Regions from separate parts of the Homo sapiens genome. Here regions 1, 2, 4 and 5 are each linked to region 3. The links are contacts of gene promoters, found by promoter capture Hi-C in blood cells and fetal thymus (Javierre and others, 2016). All regions are on one chromosome and are shown on one strand. Each heading gives the region's core, a stretch centred on a gene start or on the middle of the fragment in contact. The rest is flanking DNA. Distances are from core to core; before and after follow the strand shown. Region 1 overlaps LRIG1 (leucine rich repeats and immunoglobulin like domains 1). Region 2 has its middle 19 kb from the start of KBTBD8. Region 3 holds the start of TMF1 (TATA element modulatory factor 1). Region 4 overlaps SLC25A26 (solute carrier family 25 member 26). Region 5 overlaps LRIG1 (leucine rich repeats and immunoglobulin like domains 1).

Evidence for each region. The method cuts DNA at HindIII sites, captures the fragments that hold promoters and counts their contacts. A CHiCAGO score of 5 or more calls a contact.
Region 1: a contact is called between a fragment that was not itself captured here and the fragment with the promoter of TMF1 in region 3, in 2 of 17 cell types (activated CD4 T cells and non-activated CD4 T cells). The highest score is 14.1, in activated CD4 T cells.
Region 2: a fragment that was not itself captured here is called in contact with the fragment with the promoter of TMF1 in region 3 in 1 of 17 cell types (total B cells); the score reaches 8.3 in total B cells.
Region 4: a contact is called between a fragment that was not itself captured here and the fragment with the promoter of TMF1 in region 3, in 2 of 17 cell types (naive CD4 T cells and activated CD4 T cells). The highest score is 6.3, in naive CD4 T cells.
Region 5: a fragment that was not itself captured here is called in contact with the fragment with the promoter of TMF1 in region 3 in 1 of 17 cell types (activated CD4 T cells); the score reaches 5.5 in activated CD4 T cells.

The regions. Positions count from the first base shown.
Region 1 is chr3:66,487,954-66,491,059 of GRCh38, reverse strand. The region is part of intron 1 of LRIG1 (leucine rich repeats and immunoglobulin like domains 1); the gene reads left to right. Among named protein-coding and RNA genes, the nearest start is that of LRIG1, 12 kb to the left of the region's middle. The HindIII fragment of the contact is 2,458 bases long and covers 436-2,893 here.
Region 2 is chr3:67,015,441-67,018,810 of GRCh38, reverse strand. No RefSeq gene overlaps it. Among named protein-coding and RNA genes, the nearest start is that of KBTBD8, 19 kb to the right of the region's middle. RefSeq lists an enhancer at 368-417. The HindIII fragment of the contact is 5,097 bases long and covers 1-3,370 here.
Region 3 is chr3:69,050,751-69,054,210 of GRCh38, reverse strand. It overlaps TMF1 (TATA element modulatory factor 1), which reads left to right and starts at 1,878. Exons shown (of 17, transcript NM_007114.3): 1 at 1,878-2,266. The coding sequence starts at 2,125. RefSeq lists an enhancer at 1,817-2,286. The HindIII fragment of the contact is 2,649 bases long and covers 1,640-3,460 here.
Region 4 is chr3:66,226,206-66,229,648 of GRCh38, reverse strand. All of the region lies in intron 1 of SLC25A26 (solute carrier family 25 member 26), which reads right to left. Among named protein-coding and RNA genes, the nearest start is that of SLC25A26, 6.9 kb to the right of the region's middle. The HindIII fragment of the contact is 7,505 bases long and covers 1-3,443 here.
Region 5 is chr3:66,469,122-66,472,333 of GRCh38, reverse strand. All of the region lies in intron 1 of LRIG1 (leucine rich repeats and immunoglobulin like domains 1), which reads left to right. Among named protein-coding and RNA genes, the nearest start is that of LRIG1, 30 kb to the left of the region's middle. The HindIII fragment of the contact is 2,560 bases long and covers 497-3,056 here.

The DNA.
Region 1 (3,106 bases), core at 415-2,914, 2.6 Mb after region 3:
ACAGATTTGAAAATGTGTTCTCCAAGTAGCTGCTGCATGGTTTGTTTTATTTTATAAAAGTCCATAGTTTAATTTCTCCTCAGTCCGGTACTTTGTTGGTGAGGGGGCTTCTTTAGAATGGATTTTTTGCTAGCTGCAGCTTCATTTAGGAATCTGAGTGGGAATTACTAGTCCTCCAAATTCCATTCACTTTATCCTAGTTTTTGGAATGACTTCCATCTTCTATCTGTGAAAATCAAATTCCAGGTAGATTATGGAGTGTTCGGTGGCCTTAAAAGCTGTCCAACATGGTCAGGTTAAACTGGTGGATCTGTGAAGCTTAATTAAATTTATATGATAACCGATTATACACCATTTACAGTGGGTTCTCTGTTTAGAAAAGTGGAAGCACGCTCCAATGCATTTTTTTTTTTTAAATTATGGGGCAGAAAAGCTTAGTATTGAGAGATTCTATGAAATTAAGTGCTGTTCTGCAAATTAGGAGAACACCATTCTTTCATCTGGTTTTAGCAGTGTGGTGGTACCTTGACCCAGCATCATGCCTCCGTCTTAGTTTTCGTTTTATTTTTAATTAAGAAGAATTTTTCTCTGTGTCTGTGGTTTCCTCCCTCCACCTGGGCTGGTGTGAGTTTCTGGCACACAAGCTCCCAGTGCTTGCAAAACTTATAAACAGTCAGAAGAGCTCGTTGCTTCCAGGAAGTGAATTGTTGATGCAATGAAGTGATGGATGCAGAGGCTGCAGCTCGAAGGGAGCAGGGTTTCCTTCCATCTTGGAGGAGGGGAGATCCAGAAAACAAGCTGACATGCCCTGTAGTTATTAAGATCTGCCTCATCCCAAATTCCTCTGATTGTTTTCTCAGATTTGGAGTCTGTGTAGGACTCTTTGCTTTGGGTGGTTTGGCCTTATCCAGGGCTATGCTTTACCCAATGGAAAAATCAGAGACTCTTCTATGGAGATTTTTGGGTTCTTTCACAAGGTCATTTGAAACAATACTTAGAAATGAGTAAATTATATTCATTTCATTACTATCCTAAAATAAAGATTGGCTGACCTTATTATTTACTTGGGAGAAACTTTATGTGAAGTCGTGGTGCTCAGAATGTCTTTCTGGACAGAAAGGAGACCACGTTTTCATGGAGTTTCTTAAAGGGGTGCTTGCCCAAAGAGGCATAAAAATGATTCACCTGAGAGGAAAAAATTAATTTTCTTAAAGTCATGAAAGTGAGGATGTGGTAGAATGGGAAACTAGCTCATGGCTGGGCCTCAGGAGACGTTGGGGTTTCGTCCCAGCTCTGCCACTGATTGGCAGCATAACCTTGGGCTAGTCACTTCATTTCCTGTCTGTAAAGGGATGTATAATTTCTAAGACCCCTCATTTTTAGGTTCATGATTCTATTCTAATTGAAGCAAAAAGGGAGTAAACTTATATTTCATTGGATGGTAAGAATTAAATTGATCTGTATCTAGGATACTTAAACATTCTCTCTCTCTCTGTGTGTGTGTTAGACACACACACACACACACACACACACATACACACAAAGGGTCCCACTCTGTCACCCAGGTTGGAGTGCAGTGGCGCAATCATGGCTCACTATAGCCGTGACCTCCCAGGCTCAAGTGATCCTCCTACCTCAGTCTACTGAGTAGCTAGGACTACAGGCATGTGCCACCACACCTGGCTAGTTTTTATTTTTTGTGAAGATGGGATCTTGCTGTGTTGCCCAGACTGGTCTTGATCTCCTGGGCTCAAGTGATCCTCCTGCCTTGGCCTCCCAAAGTGCTGGGGTTACAGATGTGAGCTACCATGCTAGGCCAATGTTTGCTACTTCTGAGTGAAATTCTCAGATGGATACCATAAGCAGCAAAGAGAAAAAAGGGTATGTGCATGCAGAGTCTCAATGAGGGACCCTTTTGTGAGCCTTGAGATATTATTGAGGAGGAGTGAATACTCCACAAAGAAAGTGGTGCTTTCCTTCATTTTTACCTCCTTTTCCCCTCTGGCCCAAAGAAAACTGTGGAGGCTGGTACAGATCCACTTTCGATCTTTGATTTAGAATTTTAAGAACTTAGGTAAAAATTTAAAGAAAAAAAACCAGGAAAATAAATTACAGGCATGTTTTCCCAAAGGGTCCTTTCTCAGGGCCACTGCAGGCAGCATCTTTCTCAGGCAGTCCTTCAGTGAATACTTGCCATAAGTGAAGTTGTAAATGATGCTGAGAAACTGCCTTTAAGGACTGGATGGGCCACCTGTCACATTCTATAGTCATGGCCACAGGAAGGGCAGCTACTCACTGCACTGCCTGTTCTTTCTGGGCCAGCTTGCCATCCCTTTTACCAGGGAGATCTTTCGTGTATCCCTTTCAAGATAGAAACTCAGCCAATTAACATGTACAGCCTAGTGGCTTCCTTTTTCTTTTTTGAGGCAGAGTCTCACTCTGTCGCCCAGGTTGGCGTGCAGTGGTGTGATCTCAGCTGACTGCAACCTCTGCCTTCCTGGCTCAAGTGATTCTCTTGCCTCAGCCTCCCAAAGAGCTGGGATTACAGGCGCCTGCCACCAAGCCAGGCTAATTTTTTTTTTTTTGTTTTTTTTTAGTAGAGACAGGGTTTTACCATGTTGGCCAGGCTGGTTTTGAACTCATGACTGACCTCAAGTGATCCATCCACCTCAGCGTCCCAAAGTGCTAGGATTACAGATGTGAGCCACCACGCCCGGCTGTGGCTTTTTCTAATTTTGAAGTCTGACTCTGTTTTTGGCCAAATTCATATTAAATTTACCCATCTACCTAGGTTTGCATTGGTTACCTCTTAGTTACACTGTTTTTGAAAATCTTGAAAATTATGACAGTAATTGGACTCCTTAAAATACTTTTCATGGAGAATCTAGAAGCTTTTATTTTCTTTGTTCTGGATGTCCACTTTTCTTCGACGTGGAATTTGTTAGTGCCTTCAGTGGAAATTCTTGGGCTTTTCTTTTCCTTCCACTCATTCTTTATCGTGTAAATTTTCATAAAACGAAACTTCCGGATTTAAAATTTATTTTTATTTTTATTATTGTTTTCCGGAACAAATTCTTGGAATTTGGAGTTTTGTTTGGGGATACAA
Region 2 (3,370 bases), core at 215-2,714, 2.0 Mb after region 3:
AGTTTTCAGGAGCCGTCTTCATTCTGAACACCAAGTTTTCCCTTCACATGCAGCCTCTTTCCTTTCTCAAGGCTATGCTCCTGCTTCTCCCAGGACCTCTCTGTCCTTGGCTCTTTGAAATGCTCTCTTCCCCTTCCTTAAGTCCTCACGTGGGCCCTCCGACGCTTGGCTCTCACCCGGGCTCTTCTCGTTCCCTCTGTAAGTGCCTTGAGCGCTGACCGGTATTTGGGTGACTGCCAACTCCACATCTTCGCCTGACCTATCACCTTCATTCAGTTTCCTGTCTCCACACCCATCCTGGCTGTTTCTCGGCACAGTAATCTATACATAGTGATCCTCTGTCACTTGAAACTCAGCTCTTCCAAAAGTGAACTCACTCACTTTACATCCCAAACTGGCTCCTTGACCAGCAAGAAGGTCTGCAGTCCCAGCACCTCCACGTTCTGCCTTTGAATATAACCATTCGGGCCATCTTCCTGGGTCCCTGCTCACTAGGGAGTGGGAGGAAATTAACAGGTCTGCTTTCATTTACAGCTAAGTTTGATCCCTAAGTTTAACAACTCCTTTTCTGTTTCTTTGTTTCTTCAAAAGTAAAAGGGGGACAATGACAGATGGCTGCAGCACCGGTAGTAGGAACCAAAAAGATAACAGATACCAAAGCATTTCAAAAACTAGAAAGTGATATGCAAGAATAAGATATTAGTCAGTGTCTCATAGATATTATTTTTCACATGGGTCGTTGTTATCATATATGTAAGTATGATAGATATGTTTTGTCATGCAAAACAGGATAGATATATTTTTTCATGCTACCATGGAAATCAACCTCACACAGGTCAGTGCCCAGTAAAGTGTGGATAGCATTTTAATTTTTGGAATAGTAAAATGTAGATTAAAAAGAAAATTATAACCAATTTCTTAGAAACCTTCAAGAAGGATACACAGATACTGATGCAAGTATTTTGCTGTGTATCACATTTATATATGAATATAAAAACCTCGTGTATCCCGGAACTTAAATGAAATTTTAAAAAGGAAAAATGAGGAAAAGATATGAATAAACAATTCATATAAAGTGAAAAAAAAGCCTATATACACATATCAAAATTACTCTCCTCTTTTTTCTGCCTGCAGCTATAGGGTAAAGTTATAAAATAAAATTATAAAATCCTACCATGATTTTATAAATTGTGAATCAAAATTGCCCCAGGACATATACTTGTACAACTTGAGGTGAGATCCATGAAACTCCCCACTCACTGGGGCAGGCCCCTGAGTGATAGGTGTCATCTCCCTGTCATCTCCAGCTACACAAACACCAAGTGAGAGGACCCTTGTCCTCTTTACTTTCACGTATGCATGCTCTGATTAGCTCATCCATTCTTCTGCCTGTTGACTCCTGCCATCACCACACCCACCACATACTTTAGAAAGCACAGGATAATTGAGCCCTTATCACAAACCAGATGTTTTGGGTCAGGGGTGGGAACCATATTTGGCTCTGGGGCAAAGTAGCAAGAAGTTGCAAAAACTCTTACTATTTTCATTCTTTTTCAGAAATGTAAGAGGCTATAGAAAGTGTGTCTACCTCTCTCTGGGTCAGGATTTTCTCTTTTTTCACTCTGCTCCTATTTCTAGGGGTTTGTCTTTCATCAGTCCTGCCTCTTTGCATGTTTTTGCATATCCCTAATCTCTTTAACTTTTGGGGTTAACGGGTATACTGCAGAACTCTCAACCGGGAATAGTCTAGAAATGGAAAAGATTTTGACTTTTTGCAAGGATATTTCTCATTTCCCATTTTTATTGAAAAGGCCTAAATGTTCTGATTTTTAAAAAAATATTATTTCTCCAGCACCTCCACGTCTCAGAATCTCCTCACCTGCAGGCTTCCTGGGGAAGCACCTGCACTCTCACCCACTGACACCCACTCACATCCTCCACCTGCACCTTAATTCACAGCAATTGGTTTTCATCTCTTGCACTTGGCTAAAACCACTTTCTCATTTCAGATCTTCACATGGCTAGACCAGGAGCCTCTTACTCTCTGCATTTCATTTCTTCTCTTTGGATCTCATTCCTGAAGTTTTCTCATGCATTACTACTCCTTTGTGATTCTCCCTTCTTCTCTGATAACTTTTCAGTTGCCTTTCTTCTGTTCCTTCAGCTGAATTTCTTAAATTTTATTCTTAGCTACTTTCGCTTCTCATTTTACAATTTATCTTTGCACTAACTCATCCATTAACTCAAATTCAACTAAAACCAGCTCTGTGGATATGCCAGACTCCTAAGTTCCATCGCTAACCTTGACCAAGCTCTTGAGCTTTAAGAACAGTTGTCAGAGAGCACCATGGATTTCTTACTATCTCAGGTTCTCACTGATTACAAGGAAATACTCCCCTGCGTTGTGTGGGTTCCTGTTGGCATTTGCTCCTCAAGACTTAACTTTGGCTACTTGACATCGTAATCTAAGTGTTGGGATAAGATGTTTTGACCTTATCTTCTTATCCTTAAAGGATTTTGCAAGCATGTGTTTCAAGAACTGAACTATGTGACCGCAACTCTGTTAAATCCTGCTGTGAACTGAATGTTTCTGCCAATTCCGCCAAATTCATGTGCTGGAATCCTAACCCCCAATGTGATGGTATTAGGAGGTAGGGCCGTTGCGGGTGGTTAGGTCATGAGGGATCTGGGATTAGTACCTTTATAAAAAGACACTAGAGAGCTTGCTTTATCTTTCTCTTTCTCTGCTCTTCACCATGAGAGGATGCGATGAGAAGAGGGCCCTCACCAGACACAGGATCTGCCAGCACCTTGATCTTAAACTTCCAGACTCCGGGACTGGGAGAAATAGATGTTTGTTATTTAAGCCATGCAGCCTATGGCAATTTGTTATGGCAGCCTGAACTGACTAGGACAGGTCCTTATCTCTGAATGGGAACAGAGAACAAGATAAACTCTAAGGACAGGCCCTTGTCAGTTTGTAAAAATAGACAAGCCAAAAAGCATTATTTTTATTTTGCAGACAGAGGTTACAAGCCTTGTTTAAATTATTTTAAATACCATTGGTTTAATTTCAGTCCTTTAGAAATGCACAGTCCAGAAATGAAAGTGAGAACTGTGTGACTGTAAAACTGTAAAAATTGTTTTCATGCATGGCTTATGAGCACAATCAGAGTCCAAATGGCTACACTTTAATATATACTTTATATTAGCTATTAAGGAATATTGTTCTACAATGGTTAAGTATATCTAAAAGACTGCAGAATAGTCGTTAATAATTTCAACAAATTAATATTTAGGAAGTGTTCATTATGTGCTGTGATAAGGCACTGTGATAAGTGTTTCACATGCTTATTTGATCCTCAAAAAA
Region 3 (3,460 bases), core at 629-3,128:
ATAAAACTTCAAACAAAATTAAGTACAAATACTAAAAAAGTAGGTGCTAGTATTTTAATATGAGAACATGTATGTGTTCTCATTCTTTGTTTTTGACTTAGATATGGCAGTTTTCTGTTCAAATGTTTTTTGGTTACTTATGTGTCACTGAGTTAAGTTTTCAGTAATCTTTCTAGCTACATATTGACAAATAAGTTTTATTATAAAACCATACGGAATAAATTTATAAGCTCTACCTGAAAAGTTACAGGTGTAGCTTACAATTTTGAAAGTGAAGGAACTAAAATTTAGCACCATATAGGTGCTATAATAATTCTCAAAGTAGCATTGTAAGAAGGTGACTCTATCTGAGAGCTGAATAAATAGTTTTAGATGGTTTAGGTAGGTCATTTCACCAAAGCTGTACAATTAGAAGTCTTGGAACTGTAACTGTACAGCTAATTTCAACCCGAATCTGCCCCAAATCTCCTCTGCAGACTACTTAGCTGTTTGAAAGTACTTGAGTTACTTGGTACTACTTGTGTACATGACTAAATTGTTAGTTTTAACATGCAAGTTTTTACTGTAGTTAGATAAAATTATTGGAAGATGATTATAACTTCTTAAGGGGTTCAATCTGATTTTTTAAAAGAAAAATAATTCTTTTTTGCAGAGTTCCTTGCAGTGGGGTAAAATATTCAAATATGGGAGGCAGGCATATAAGGTAAATAATCACAGCAGGGAGGGTGTAATAGGATGAGTGATAGGGGTCTGTGGCAAACTGGAGTGAGTGAAAATTATTTGGTGACCACTCTGGCTGACTATTCCCATGCTTGGTATTCATATTTTTCAAAAGCAGCTGGAAATCTAGATTTTTGAATGAAATCTGGCTTTTAGTTAGGATTTTGTCTTTAACTTGGGCCCAAACCAAATATAGCTGCAGACTGGATTAGGAAGGCCACCAATTTAAGGTATTTTCCCATGTCCAAATGTTCGAAGAGAATGCACACAGAAAAGGTTATGTTTTAAGTAATATGCACAGTGCACATTGTTAGGATAACAGCTTTAGTGCTTCCTAGGTGTCTTAGTCCATTTGGACTGCTGTAACAAATTGCCATAAACTGGGTGGCTTATAAGCAGTAGCAATTTGTTTCTTAACAGTTCTAGAGGCTGAGAAGTCCAAGATAAGGAGCCGGCAGATTTGGTGTCTGGTGAGGGCTGCTATTCTGGCTTAGAGTTGGTGCCTTCTTGCCGTGAGCTCCCTTGGGCCTCTCTTATAAGGGCACTAACCCCATTTATGAGGGCTCCATCATCATCTAATCATCTCCTAAAGGCTCCCCTTAATACTGTCCCATTGGAGATTAGGTTTCAACATAGGAATTTGTGCAGGGGACACCGACAGACCACAGTATTAGGGGTATTTTGACTGCAGCAATGAGTTTACTACTATTTTGAGAGAGAGGTTGTGCTTTATGCACCATGTGTTCCACGAGTTGGACACAGTGTTCATACGTGATCCTGTCTTTTAGGCAAGCCCAAACAAGTGTTTCTCCTTACAATACCAAGTTAATACAGAGCTTATTAAATATTTGAGACAAAGGGCTAAGAGAAGTGTGAGGCCCAATTTCCCTTTGCAATTATTGCTGGCAAGGTGCAAGCTTTTAGCACGTGAACTATTTTCCTGGAAAGCACACACACGAAAACTTGAATATTCCTTCCGGGGAAATCGACCTCTATCGGTAGCCATAGCTTCCCCTTCGCTAAGAACTGCTGTAAGCACGAAATCGACATCAATAGAAACCCTTCCGCGTTCCTCGGTAACTAACGGCAACCCTGCGCTCCCGGATGTGACGTCAACGTTCTTCTGTTCTTCCGTCTGTCGACCGAACTCTGGGCTCGTAGATTTGGTTGCTGTGTACGTGGAAGAAGCAAGCGCATGCGCACATGGGCCCCCTTCGTCTCAGCTGTGCGGGAACGGCCGAGGGTAACATCCCGGGCTCGCGGGAGGCTGTCGGGGTAATGGCCACACGCTGACAGAACCAGCCGAGTGGAAAAGGGGAGCGAAGCCGTTCCTCTGCACCCTTCCCCAGGCCTGAGGCCTTCCCGCTTGGTGCTGCCGCCGCCACTGCCGGCTGAGGAGGGGCGATGAGTTGGTTCAACGCCTCCCAGCTCTCCAGCTTCGCTAAGCAGGCCCTGTCCCAGGCCCAGAAGTCTATTGACAGGGTTCTGGACATCCAGGAAGAGGAGCCGAGCATCTGGGCCGAGACCATTCCGTATGGAGAGCCGGGTAAGAGAGAGAGGAGCGGGGTTCCTGGCTCCCGGAGGCTGCTGTTCTCTTGATGCAGGCAGGTTAAGTGGTGTAGAGAGGGGTCCTTCCTTGCTGAGAGAGTTTTCAGGAAGTAATTTCTCCCCGGCCCGTTCCCTAATGCTGCTTCAGCCTCCAAGTCGGTCTTTGCTGTTTTCCTGAGGGAAAACCCAGATCCAGGTTCCCCCTTGTCTTTCTTTGGTCCTGGGTGCGAGGCTTGTGGACTTGGATGACAGGGGACTTGGTTGGTTGGTCTTGCCCTCAAGCTCTCCCTCGACGCAGCTTCCAAGCACAACCTTCCCGAACCTGAACCTCGAATTGCTTCGCGTCTCGGGCACTGTTGGGATCCAAGGTCTGAAGTACGTAAATCATCAGGGAAGGGAAGAACAATCGCTAACAGTCAGTGAACATTTCGCGCTTGGTAGCGCGTAATGTGGTTTTATGTTGTTGTTGAGACGGAGTCTCACTCCGTCGCCCAGGCTGGAGTGCAGTGGCGCGATCTCGGCTCACTGCAACCTCCGCCTCCCAGGTTCTAGCGATTCTCCTTCCCCAGCCTCCCTAGTAGCTGGGATTACAGGCGCCCACCACCACGCCCGGCAACTTTTTGTATTTTTAGTAGGGACGGGGTTTCACTATGTTGGCCAGGCTGGTGGAACTCCTGACTTAAGGCGATCCACCCACCTCGGCCTCCTAAAGTGCTGGGATTACAGGCACGAGCCTGTAATGTGCTTTTTTATGGCCTTCTCATCTTCAGAACAACTCCCAGAGAGAGCTTGGTTTATATCCGTGTTTTACATAAGAGGAAAATGAGGCCCAGAATGGCCAAGTAACTTGCTCTAGGTCACACGGCGGAGGAGGATTAGAATGTGCCGGAGGTATTAGCCGGAAAATGTGTGACCCAAGATTTCTGGATGGTATCACATTTTATTTCTGAATAGCCAAGTCTCTCTTTGCAGTTTCATTGAGCTTAATCTTTCAGGGATCTTCATTCAGTTGCTTTTGACTCTTAAGTCTAAGGAACAGTTCAGCATTTGATGTGTGGGGTAAAGATTTGCTGGTGTTGGGGGATGTGAACCTTTGTGTGAAAAAGGATAAGAGATGTACTTGACTACTCCTTTCTGGTTTCTGTTCTTAATTTTACATCATTGAAAAGTCAGGACCTAAATTTGAGGTACC
Region 4 (3,443 bases), core at 897-3,396, 2.8 Mb after region 3:
AGGTTTAGTTGACTCACAGCTCCGCACTGCTGGGGAGACCTCAGGAAACTTACAATCATGCCAGAGGGCAAAGGTGAAGCAGGCACCTTCTTCACAGGGCGGCAGGACACAGAGAGTGCAAGAGGGGAAATGCGAGACACTTATAAAACCATCAGATCTCATGAGACTCACTCACCATCAGGAGAACAGCATGGGGGAACTGTCCCCACGATCCAATTACCTCCACCTTTGGTTCGTCCTTGACACATGGGGATTATGGGGATTACAATTCAAGATGAAATTTTGGGTGGGGACCCAGCCAAACCATATCAGTCTTCTTAGGGAAACTAACCTCTCTAAGCCTTTGTTTCTTGACACATGAAACAGGGAAAAGAGTACCTATACTTCATAGAGTTTTTGAGAATTAAATAAAATAAATGAGAACTAAACACAATCAGATGAACCTGTTATATGGTTAGCAAAATGCCTAGGCCTTAATCAATTATCAATAAACTACTATTTTTAGAATTATATTACTATAAACATCCTTCAAAGTTTGCTGGTACCAATACTGACATGCAAATACTAAAAACCACGCAAAAGCCTAAAGAGTACTTTACCAAACACTGAAGATGACATTCCTATATTCAACTCAACTGACAAATTCATATATTAAAATCTGTAAATTCAAGTTTTTCACTAGCAATAATGAATTAAAAGCTCTTCTCAAATTCTGCTCTCTGGACAAGAATCCCCAGTGAACTGACTCAACAGAAACCAAATCATGTGATGCATGACAGGAACATTCAGCATCAACTTCAAAAACTTAAAGAGAAATATAAGTGTTCAAATTGCTTTATGATTCTTGAATTCAAACTTACATGTTAATTTTTTAAAGTAGAATATAAAATTATACCTATATGACCTCAGCTATGAAAAAGTTGCATAAGCACTTTTAAAGTGCTCAGTAAACAGTTAAGTGTTACCACCACTTGGAATTATATAATTAAGTTTCGTTTAGCATCTGCCTCCTACTAGACTCTAAATCCCTGAAGGTGGGGGACCATATTTTTCAGGCATTCAACCCCAAATAACACAGCAAAGGCCAACAAATGTATCTGGTTAAGCATGTAAAAGACACCTGATTTGGGGAGGTGAGATAACTGTGGGTGTAACTTTTATCTTTCCTTTATTTGGAATTTAATTAATGTTACCCAAATTTTGTCTGTATTACAAAAGATTTAATATTTAGAGCAACTTTCAACATGTAGTAGTAGGGTTTGGAAGTGGTAACAAAACCACATTAACAAGTCACTTACAGCTAAGTTATCAAATACTAAAACTTTCCAAGTATGCCTTTCTTAAACAGAAAGAAAAATGAAAAAAGAAAGGTAGTCCCATCTGTGGGTAGTAGAGATGCACAAAAAAATGCCTCCATCACAGTGGTGGTTATCAGTTGTGGTCCTTGCATGATTGGTGCTCTCCAAGCAGTGCTTTGCATGCTCCACGGGCTGAGCAAAATTTGGAATATACTTGTGTTTAGATAATTTCTTGCTCAACACAAAAGCAAGCAAAAAGGGAAGACCTGCTCACTCTGACGTAAATGCCAAAAATAAACAAGTCACACAAGTCCTGAGAAAGAGAAGCATAATTCTCAATTTTTTATAAATTTGGAGATAATCTTTAAAGATGCCCTTTACTCCAAATTGAAAACTAGGAGGTCACTATCCAGAAAAGATAAGAGGCAAAACAAGAAAAACAACAAAACAGAAAACCTCTTTTAATAGTATACCCAATACTTCATTCGTATTACCTTTCTTCACTCCACCCAAGAACCCCTGCCATCATAACCCACATTGTTCCCCTCAAGTATCCTACTGCCTGTAAGGTGGTTCTCAGCAGAAGGGCAGGTCCAGTGAGAAGACACCCAAGTATCACGAAAAAGCTCCCCAGATGACAGCACCAGCCAAAAATCACCTCACTAAAAACAGGAAAACAAAAACTACAAGCGGTCCTCACTTTGCATGGTACCTACATACATGAATTTCAGTTACCATGATTTACTTAAATAACATGAATCTCCCAATGACCCAGGTCAAATTTCAGTTACCACAGCATATTAACTATGAGTAACTGGATAAAGTGTAAACTTCACCACTTGTTCAGTCCACAAATCACAATACAATTAACAGAAATCACTGCCTATTACTCAGTTTACGCACAGACAGCAAATAGTTGTTACCTCATCTCCCAGTAATAAATGCACACGACATTTTATAAAAATAGACAGAAAACTGATGAACAAAGATGAAAATGCAAAAAAAATGAAAAGTGGTAACACAAAGTTAAACAAAAATCAGACATAAATGGTATTAGAGAACAAACAGCTGGCCATGGAAATATTCACACTGCTGTCATTAATCTAGATAAGTAACTAGAAAAAATAAGTGAGAGCAAATTTAACATAAATAAGGAAAGTAGTTGTGATGAAAAGGATGAAAATGTCCCAGACTAAGTTATGTCAGCAAGTCTTCGCATTAAACGAACTCACAACATTGAAAGCACAAAAAATAAAATGTTAGAAGTTGATCCAAACTGAGAAAGCAGTATGACAACTTGCCAAGGCATAAAAAGATGCTTCTTCTATAATACATAATGAGAACACAAGCAAATGTTCAAACTACTGTTGATAAGGTTTTGTCCAAAAAATTAAGTTATTAATGTTTCTAATGTTTTTAATTACAGTGTACTAAATAAACATCAGCTTTGCAATTTTTCCCCTATATATTACAACCAAAGCGTTTTTAATGTTTTGACAAAAATTCTTAGGGTGGGCCAGGTGTGGTGGCTCATACCTGTGACACCTCTTTCTACAAAAAAAATTTTCTAAAAACTGTAAGAACAACATGGGCTGGGCTCAGTGGCTCATGCCTGTAATCTCAGCACTTTGAAGCTGAGTCAGGAGGATTGCTTGAGGCCAGTACTTCAAAACCAGCCCTGGCAACACAGCAAGACCCTGTCTCTACAAAACAAGAAAATTTTTAATTAAAAAATTAGCCAGGCGTGGTTGGTGCATGCCTCTAGTCCCAGCTACTCAGGAGGCTGAGGTGGGAGGATCACTTGAGCAGAGACAGCACCACTGCACTCCAGCCTGGGCAACAGAGGAAGACCTTGTCTCAAAAAAAAAAGAAAAGAACGCACATGAAATGGTTTGGCTCTGGGTCCCCAACCAAATCTCATCTTGAATTGTAGCTCCCATAATTCCCACATGTTGTGGGAGGGGCCTGGTGGGAGGTAATTGAATCATGGTGGCAGGTCTTTCCCATTCTGTTCTGGTGATAGTGAATAAGTCTCACAAGATCTGATGATCTCATAAAGGGGAGTTCTCCTGCATACGCTCTCATCTGCAGCCATGTAAGACGTGACTTTGCTCCTCCTTTGCCTTCTACCATGATTGTGAGGCC
Region 5 (3,212 bases), core at 527-3,026, 2.6 Mb after region 3:
TTTTTTTTTTTTTTTTTTTTTTTTTTTTTTGAGACAGAGTCTTGCTCTGTCACCCAGGCTGGAGTGCAGTAGTGTGATCTCGGCTCACTGCACGCTCCGCCTCCCGGGTTCTCGCCATTCTCCTGCCTCAGCCTCCCCAGCAGCTGGGACTACAGGCGCCCACCACCACGCCAGGCTAATTTTTTGTATTTTTAGTAGAGATGGGATTTCATCGTGTTAGCCAGGATGGTCTTGATCTCCTGACCTCATGGTCTGCCTGCCTTGGCCTCCCAAAGTGCTGGGATTACAGGCATGAGCCACCACGCCTGGCCCGAAGTTAGTGAATTTTAAAGCTGCATCACATTTTCAGAAACACCCTGGATTTTGCATTGGTGGTTTCATAGGAAGCTAATCAGTCTCCTGAAAGTGGACATTTAGCAGGGGCCAGGGGCGGATGTGGAGGGGTAAAGGTGGAAGTTTTAGGAAAGGAAAACAGTAATCCGTGACCAGAGAAGCTTTGGTGGACTTTACAAAGCACTTGGTGAACCTGGGATTCCAAATGTATCCACCAGGTTAATGTGTCCTTTTTCTCAGTTTTACCCATCCCATATTTCCTGTCCCTTTTGCCTGACTTGTTTTCAGTACTCCAGAAGCAAAAGTCTCCGTTTTCTGCCGCAGTAGAGCGTGGTTTTCATTTATGAGAACCCTCTGCCATCCTTTAACTGAGAGAACCTCTGGGTTTTACCTCTGGCCGCCCTTCATCCCCGCCATGCCCTCCGTCCCTGCTGGTTGGGATGGATGAGCCTTTGCTCTCCCTGCAGCGGCTGGGGCCCTAGGCTGTCAGGGCACCTCGGGGAAGAGTTCAGTGGGAGCAGGGAGCACCTGGCTCCAAGGTTCCAACCCCCCTCTGTTCTGCAGAATGACTGGGCTCCCAGGAGGTAAAGATTCAGCTCTGTTACTGGATGGGGTGAGGATAGGGGGGCTATTGTGCAGGTGATGAGTTTGCCAAGTCCTGTAGAGCTTAAGGACTATGTGAAAGTTAGTGAATTAGTGTTTCTTTTTGGAGATGATAAAGTAGAGAATAGGCGATCCTGAATGACCAGACTTCTGACCCATCTCTTCCCGCTCCCCATTTCCAAGCCTCTGCAAAGCACTTCTCTAATAGCAAAGCCAAATGGTGGCTGTAGGCACCTCTTGCCTGCTGGGGTGGCCATGGTGATATTCCCTTTGTGGCAGGTCTGTGGGAGGGTCAGCCTCTGGCAGCAGCTATTCCCTGCCCAAATTCCTTTTGCTTGTAAAGTCCCCACCAACTGCAGAGCTGGTGTGTTGGAGCGCCTCTTCTTAATTAAATTAATTAATCTTTAGGGGTTAATGATGCACATACCATATTAACAAGAGACTATTATGGGAAATTTGTGGGCTTTCCTCAGTACTAAACTGCACTAAAGATGAGACTGCTTAAAGTAAAACAAAACAAAACCCATTATAGCTAATTATTTTGTTTCTTTTTGGCCAAACTAAGATTTTTGGTAGGAAAGATCCTAGAATCTCCCATTTTAAGGGGTAGTATAGAAAGCAAATGCTAACTGCCTTCAGTGATGGTGAGAAAACAAATTGGGCCTCTTGATTATCTAGTTCAGAACTTTTAAGTAAATGAACAAGGCGATACTCTGTTCTTATGGAAATCAACTTTAATGGCCCCATAGATTAATGTTCGTGAGGGACCTGGCACTGGGGTTTGCTAAGGTTTATATAACCCTTGACTTAACCGCCTGGTGGGTTGTGGGTCTGGCAGCATGGGGCTATTCTTCTCAACTTTGCTGTAAAACCATTTGTGTCTTGCCCTTTCCTTTCTAGGAGGTCCTGACTTCTTGGCCTTTTTGTTTGCTTATTTTACTCCATGCCCTCCATTCCTTATTTTACTTTTCTGGCCTCGTTTCCCAGGACTCCTCTTCAAAAAAACATGCTCTTCTTCTAGGCTTAGCTGAAATCTTGCATTTTCAATAAACGTTTCTCATTACAGCTGATCTTTCCTGCTCTGGACGCCATCTGGCCTTCATTCATGTTATCCATGCTAGGGATGACAAACTCAGATCTCGGGCTGGGAAGATACTGCCGGTGAATAAAGAGGGCATGGGTGAGACAATAAGGAGTGGTGAGGTCTGTGGTCATTGGAATGCTTGGTAAATGCATGTAGTTGATTGTTTCTGTTAGGAATGCTGGCCCTCCGATTATTTTCAAGAAAAGCTGAAACTTTAGTTTTTGGTGAAAACTTTAGGTTTCTACCAACACTGTTCAGTCAGAAACAAGCAAGTTTCCCTGCAGCCCAGCTTTGTACCCACAAACTACCAATTTGTAGCTACTGATCTACCATTACAGAATGCTTGCAAGTGTCAGAGCCTTTGGCTGTGTTATTTGGTCAGTATTCTTTTTTTTTTTTTTTTTTTGGTAGGGACAGGGTCTCACTATGTTGCCCAGGCTGGTCTCAAATTCCAGGCCTAAAGTGATTCCCCGACTTTAGCCTCCGAAAGTGCTGAGATTTATAGGCGTGAACCACCACACCCGGCCAGGAGTCTTAACTTGACCAGTGGGTTGTAAACCACTTCAAGTCACAGACTAGATCTTATCCTAATTTGTTATCAGTTTATCACAGTGCAGTATACCTTGTAGACAATAAATATTTGTCAAATTTGACATTTGTTGGGTGCTAGAGGGAAAAGATGTAGACTTGTACTCAAATTAGCTACAGACCAGGATGACATGTGTGAACTAGTAAGGCCGAGAAGCACATGTAAGACCTTATGGGATCACAGAGGTAGGCATGAGTTTCTTCTCTCAGTTAACGTCACGGGCGTTAGACTTCAGAGGCCCACACTGATTATTATAGCTGATTTTTAAGGAGTAAAAATAGGCAATGAGTCTGGGTCCATATATAGCTGTATGTATATAGTATCTCCTATTTTGAGTCACTGTAGGTTTCCCTTATTTGCATAGATAATGGTCTATGTAAAATTTTCAGAAATGGAAATAACTGGTGACTCATTACTGACTTTGTGAGATACAACTGCCCAAAAGCTTACAAAATGAGCTATTTGTATCATGTTGAGATCTGAGTGATTTTTTTCATTTGATTATTTGCAGAATATGTTCTTTTGCCATAGGGAATATGTGGCTGCTTAGCTTACTGAAGAGAGGTAGCAGCAAGTACAGAACCTTCTCCTGAGTGGAGATCC